Linked DNA regions of Homo sapiens: region 1 is linked to region 2. Evidence: promoter capture Hi-C in human tissues and cell types (Jung and others, 2019). All regions are on one chromosome and are shown on one strand. Each heading gives the region's core, a stretch centred on a gene start or on the middle of the fragment in contact. The rest is flanking DNA. Distances are from core to core; before and after follow the strand shown. Region 1 holds the start of PNPLA7 (patatin like domain 7, lysophospholipase). Region 2 holds the start of NRARP (NOTCH regulated ankyrin repeat protein).

Region 1 (2,500 bases), core at 1-2,500, 250 kb before region 2:
CTGGCGGATGAGTGATCGCTCTCAGCGCGGTGGTCCCTGGCGTCTCCACTGCCCGCCACTGCCTGTGTTCGTCCGCCAGGTGGCCGGCGGTTTCCCGGGAGCCCAGTCCCCCTGAGGCCGTGAGGTGGCGTCGGGAGGTCGGGGAGGACGCGGGCCCTGGACTCGAGACGGCCGCCGCGTTGACGCCGCGACCCTGCCTTTCTTACCCCTCCGCCGGGCGCGGCTCCTCTGGGCGGAGCCGGCAACCGCGCGGGGAAAGCCCGGGACCTGCAGCCGGGAGGGCCCGGGCTGTCTGTGCTCCCCCGCAGGCCGGGCAGTGGTGTGGGGGGACTCGAGCCCTCGCGGTGCCCAAATTAATCAATAATCTTGGACCCAGCACGTCCGGCTTGCGCACTGAGCCCTCCTGCCCGGTCACCCTCGCAGGCGACCTCTCACCCCACGCGGAAGTCGCCCCCCAGCCGCACCCTCACAATCCGGATCCACCCCCTCCCCAGCTGCACCCCGTCCCCAGCGGCACCCCCACAGCCCAGATCCATCCCCTCTCCAGCTGCACGCCCTTCCCCAGCGGTACCCCCACACCCCAGATCCATCCCCTCCCCAGCTGCACCCCCTCCCCAGCGGCACCCCCACGCCCCAGATCCACCCCCTCCCCAGCTGCACCCCCTCCCCAGCGGCACCCCCACGCCCCAGATCCACCCCCTCCCCAGCTGCACCCCCTCCCCAGCGGCACCCCCACACCCCAGATCCACCCCCTCCCCAGCTGCACCCCCTCCCTAGCGGTACCCCCACTCGCCGGATCCACGCGCTCCCCAGCTGCACCCTCTCCCCAGCAGTACCCCCACACCCCAGATCCACCCCCTCCCCAGCTGCACCCACTCCCCAGCGGTACCCCTACACGCCGGATCCACCCCCTCCCCAGCTGCACCCACTCCCCAGCGGCACCCCCACACCCCAGATCCACCCCCTCCCCAGCTGCACCCACTCCCCAGCGGTACCCCTACACGCCGGATCCACCCCCTCCCCAGCTGCACCCTCCTCCCCAGCTGCATCCCCACACCCCGGATCCACGCCCCGCCAGCGTCACCTCCCCTCCAGCCGTGCTTCTCCAGAAGGCAGCGCTGCCCCCATCCCCGCCGCGCTGGGCCTGGCTCCTCTTGACCTGCTTGGATACGCCCCATCTGGCTGCTGTTCTGGGTTCCGGGACAGCCACGTGAGGGCTGTTTACAGAGGGAAGGAGGTGGCTCCTAGCAGATGACAGACACTTCTCAAAAGACAGCTTTTCTTCCTGGAGAACAGACTTTTTCAGCAGGATTTTCCTTTCAGTGAAACATAATTTGACTTGAAAGGAACCCAGGGAAAAGTGTCCAGGTGTGAGCATGAGCGGGTAGAGGTGTGCCCTTGTTTGCTTCAGGCTGTCTGCTTTTCGCCCCTGACTGTTTTTTCTGTTTCTGGCCATGGAGGAAGAGAAAGATGACAGCCCACAGGTATGTAACTCGGGGGACCAGATGCCTGGATTTCCCAGTTGGGGGGCATTTCTGGACCCAGAGAAGGGTCCTCTTGGCGTCTGCTCTGCCGCGCTCTTTGGCCCCGTGGCTTCTTGGCGCCTGAGGACTGTGGGAGTGGTGGATCTGGCCCCTCTCTGCTGCCTGTCACAGCTGCCAGCACTTGTTAGACGCGCCTGTCACAGCAGACAGCCAGTGGTGGCCCATGGGCATTGTTCACAGCGAGGGCAGCCAGCGGTGGCCCATGGGCATTGCCTGAGGCCTTGTCTTTTCTTCCCCTAAGGTCACAGTTGCTACTTCCAGTTCCTTTAGGACTTTGCCTGATGGTTTTGCTTAGAACCTTTTTCTGTGTTTTTTTTTTTCCCAAGACGGAGTCTCGCTCTGTCGCCCAGGCTGGTGTGCAATGGTGTGATCTTGGCTCACAGCAACCTCCGCCTCCTGGGTTCAGGCAATTCTGCCTCAGCCTCCCGGGTAGCTGGGACTACAGGCACCACGCCCGGCTAATTTTTGTATTCTTAGTAGAAACGGGGTTTCGCCATGTTGGCCAGGCTGGTCTTGAACTTTTTTTTTTTTTTTTTTTGAGACGGAGTCTTGCTCTGTCGCCCAAGCTGGATTGCAGTGGCACGATCTCAACTCACTGCAAGCTCTGCCTCCCAGGTTCACGCCATTCTCCTGCCTCGGCCTCCCAAGTAGCTGGGACTACAGGCGCCCACCACCACGCCCGGCTAATATTTTTTTGTATTTTCAGTAGAGACGGTGTTTCACTGTGTTAGCCAGGATGGTCTCGATTTCCTGACCTCGTGATCCGCCCGCCTTGGCCTCCCAAAGTGCAGGGATTACAGGCATGAGCCACCGTGCCCGGCCTAGTCTTGAACTCTTGACCTCATGATCTGCCCGCCTCGGCCTCCCAAAGTGCTGGGATTACAGGCGTGAGACACTGTGCCCAGCCCTAGAATCTTTTTCTTAGTCAAACATCTGTAGCCACATGGCAAAGGCCT
Region 2 (3,797 bases), core at 403-2,902:
TGAGGTCCAGAGACACAGCCAGCACCAGGGACCAGCAGGCAGCCCAGCGGCTCCCCCTCCTTAAGAGGCCAAAGGTGCCCAGCAGAGCACGGCAGGCCAGGCCATGCCATCCCTGCCCCGGGCCTGGGCTCCACAGCGCCCATCTCTGTTCTGCTGGGGGCCTACTCCGGGACTCCACTGTGTCCTCACCTGCATATTGGGGAGCACCCCTCCACCCTCCGTGGCCCCCTTGAGAGCTCCTGGGAGAAGCAGTGAGGCCCAAAGGAGAGAGCTGAACAGAACCAGCGGGATCACGGCCCCAGGAAGACCAGAGCGAGCTCTGAGCTGTGCCTTTGAGGGACAGAGGTTCCCAGCCCACCAGGAGGACCCCAGGGCCTCAGGACCCTGCTCCGGTCAGCCAGGGTCTGTCCCGAAGGGAGCCTGCCCAGTTTTTCCTGCCAGTATGGGCACAGCATGGGGTGGGGACACACCCCTGTGGGGAGCCGGATGTGGGGACATGGAGCTGGTGGGCGGAAGCCTCCTCAGACAAGGCCTGGCATGGGGGTCTCCCCAGCCCGAGCTCAGAGCTGCCTGCGCGGAATTCCCGGCTTGGCTTCAGAAGGAATTCAAGCCCCAGCCTGCCTGGCCTCCTGCTCCGCGCCTGAGAATCACTCCTCCTTAATTTCCAACGACCACAGCGAGTTGTAAACTGTAAAACTCTAATGAGGAAATGCGCTGTGCTTCCCCTGCTAGTGCCTCCCGGTCAATTGTTAGAGTGGTCAATAAAAATGGGTTTTACAGTTTGGAAGCCAGGCGTTTCAGAATTCCCTTCTGGCCCTGGCGCCACACCTAGCCCTGCTCACCTGGGCAGGACCTATGTGTCCCGCATGCTGGTGCGTGGGCAGCAGAGGGAGGCAGGCCGCGGTCCCGACCCTCCCGCTGCGCCCCGGCCCGGGGCTTCCTCCCGAGAGGACAGCGGAACCCCCTTCACCGCCAGGCGATAGAAGCCGCGGTGGCCGGCCGGAGGCCCCTCGCATCAGTACGGTTGGGGCACACATAGGCTGAGCCGGCGGCCATGAGGCTGCCCGCGCGCGGGAAGGACCCGCGTGGCTGAAGGCCCCACGTCAGGGCCTGGAGTTGCCACCCGCGTGGACGGTGAGCCCGGAGGCGCGGGCTGGCCGGGGTCGCCGCGCGCCTCTCCGCTCAGAGGGGTCTCTCCTTCGCCACGGGCCTGAGATGCCCGCGAACCCCCTGCCCGGGAGAGGCCGCCCTCGGGGCCACCTGGCGGTCGCGCTCGGGTACCGGGCAAGGCCTGGGTCTGGCTGCTGAGGGAGCTTGGAATTCCCCGGGTGGCCGGAGGGAGAAGGGGCGGGACGACCGCAAAGAGACGCGGAGCGCCCGGGGGGCGCGCGGACGGCGGCGGCGACGGAGCTGGACCCCCCCGGCGGCCACCTGGCCTCCCCCGCCCAGGCGCTGCCGGCGACCAGCGCCCCCTGCCGCGAAGCGCGCCGCCGCCGGGACCCGCCCCCGGACCCCTGCGCACGGCACCGCCCACGCCCCGCCCCCATGTGGGCGCGGCCCAATCCCGGGGCCGCCGGCGCGCGCGTCACGGGCTGCCATTGTTATGCAAATATAAAGAAGGTAAAAGGCGCCCCGGCGCGGCGGGCGAGCTAGTGCTGCGGCGCGTGGGGAGGCGCCTTGGGACCGCGTGGGAGCCGCAGCCGAACCGAGTAGGGACCGGGACCGCGCGGCGCCGCCGTCCCCGGCCGGGCCCGGCCCCCGCGAGCCGAGCGCGCGCCCCCGTCGCCCACCCGGGCGCGGCTGGATGCGGCGGGGTCCCCGCGGCGGCGACCCCCGGCCCCGAGCGCCCGGAGCGCCCAGAGGCGGCGTGCGGGGCCCGGGGACGCCGCGCCCTCCATGCGCCGAGGCGCGCCCCGAGACAGCCGGGGGCCCGCGCCGCAGCCGCCGCCCGCGCTGAGCCCCGGCCCGGCCCGCGGCCCGCGCCCGGCGGCAGCATGAGCCAGGCCGAGCTGTCCACCTGCTCCGCGCCGCAGACGCAGCGCATCTTCCAGGAGGCTGTGCGCAAGGGCAACACGCAGGAGCTGCAGTCGCTGCTGCAGAACATGACCAACTGCGAGTTCAACGTGAACTCGTTCGGGCCCGAGGGCCAGACGGCGCTGCACCAGTCGGTCATCGACGGCAACCTGGAGCTCGTGAAGCTGCTGGTCAAGTTCGGCGCCGACATCCGCCTGGCCAACCGCGACGGCTGGAGCGCGCTGCACATCGCCGCGTTCGGTGGCCACCAGGACATCGTGCTCTATCTCATCACCAAGGCGAAGTACGCGGCCAGCGGCCGGTGATGCCCGCCGGGACCCCGGACCCCGGCCCTGCGCCCGCGTCGTCTCTGCTGTACCTTCCCGCCAACTACCTCGGTGCGCGCCCGGCTCGCAGGCCCCGCCAGAAGGCCCGTGGCCACGGCGAATACGGCGCGTGCGTCCCGGCCCCAGGGTCCGGCAGCCCCGCCGGCCGAGCGCCTCCCTGCGGCCTAGCCGGGCCCGGCCGGGCCGGAGCAGCTTCCCACGGCCCCCACCCGCTCGCCTGCCCGCCGCCTCGCGGGTGGGGGCGGGGCGCGGGCTCCAGCCCCTTTTGAAATTTGAGTCTCGCAACCAGCAAGTTCGGAATCCCGAGATACCGGATCCTCTGCGCAAAATGTTTTCTCCCGAAGGTGAAAGGCGGGCGGCGGGAGCCGAAGGCGGACTCGGAGCGCTCCGCCGCCGCCTTCAGGACCCGCCCGCAGGCCCGGGACGCGCCGATGCCGGCTGCAGCCGAGGAGCAGCCCCGAGGTCCGAGGTCCGCGCCGCTGGCGCGCGGCCGAGGAGACGCTCGGCTGTTCGCTGTTGCTGGTGTTCTAAACTATTTATCTTGTGTGTGTACATTTGTGGGTGGAGTTTGTGCGCCTGGTTTTTTTGTTTGGAAAACACTGCGTGGTCAATGTGGTTATGGGGGGGAGTGATGCATTTTTTTCTAGTCTTAAAACTAAAAACTTGAGTCTACCATTTCTTGGTTGCACTGAAAATACCGCCCAGCCTGATGGTGTTCCCGTGCTGTCCCTCCCCCTTCCCTTCTCCCCGCGTCTACCTCCCCACCCCGTTCTGTTCCCCCTCCCTCCTTCTCCCTCTCCCTCAAATCCGTGAGTTTTGGAAGCCCCAGGGCCTCTCTCCCCCGCCCCTCCTGGATGAGGCCACCATCCCCCAAACCGGCTTGTTTTGCAGTTTCCCCAGGATCCTGGAAGCTCGCTGGCGCTCGAGGGTGGCGGGGACACGGGGGGGTGGGTGAAGGTTCGTTACCTTTTCTAGTGCGTTCTATCATAGTTAACGGTTGCACACTTTTTTAAAAAAAGTAAATGGATTTGCCACAATTAAATGTCATAACATTTATGACAGAATATAAAATATTAACATATTTTAAGCCAAGTTTTAGGTGTATTTTTTGAATCTTGGTTATAAACCCAATTTTAAAGGGCGATGTATCCAGCGTTGTGAAGGCAACAGAGTGTACCCATATTTATATTTTTATAAAATACCTATAAGACTGTGAATCTCTTGTGCTAATGGCTGAGTTAATTGAAGGATCGTTTTGCCCCTTTTTAGCCTCCCAGAGCTTCGAGGACTCAATTCGAACCCGAAATCCTGCCGTGGGGGAGGGGTTGCGTCGAGACCTGGGCCCGGGGAGGTTCTCCTGCGTCACTTTCTGTCCTGAAAGGCGCCCTTCCTGGTTTCTGTGGCTCCAATTTTCTATGCAGCCCCACACCCCTTGTT

The links. Contacts are between HindIII fragments. The study calls those that stand out against the background at their distance.
Region 1: the fragment with the promoter of PNPLA7 here is called in contact with the fragment with the promoter of NRARP in region 2 in 2 of the 25 tissues and cell types used here (IMR-90 fibroblasts and dorsolateral prefrontal cortex).

Annotation. Positions count from the first base shown.
Region 1 is chr9:137,549,152-137,551,651 of GRCh38, reverse strand. It overlaps PNPLA7 (patatin like domain 7, lysophospholipase), which reads left to right and starts at 1,250. Exons shown (of 35, transcript NM_001098537.3): 1 at 1,250-1,484. The coding sequence starts at 1,455. RefSeq lists a silencer at 1-451 and an enhancer at 1,640-2,141. The HindIII fragment of the contact is 18,703 bases long and covers 1-2,500 here.
Region 2 is chr9:137,300,126-137,303,922 of GRCh38, reverse strand. NRARP (NOTCH regulated ankyrin repeat protein) reads left to right here and starts at 1,652. Exons shown (of 1, transcript NM_001004354.3): 1 at 1,652-3,797. The coding sequence starts at 1,995. The coding sequence ends at 2,339. RefSeq lists silencers at 1,093-1,732, 2,415-2,494, 2,565-2,624, 2,745-2,794 and an enhancer at 1,435-2,353. The HindIII fragment of the contact is 30,312 bases long and covers 1-3,797 here.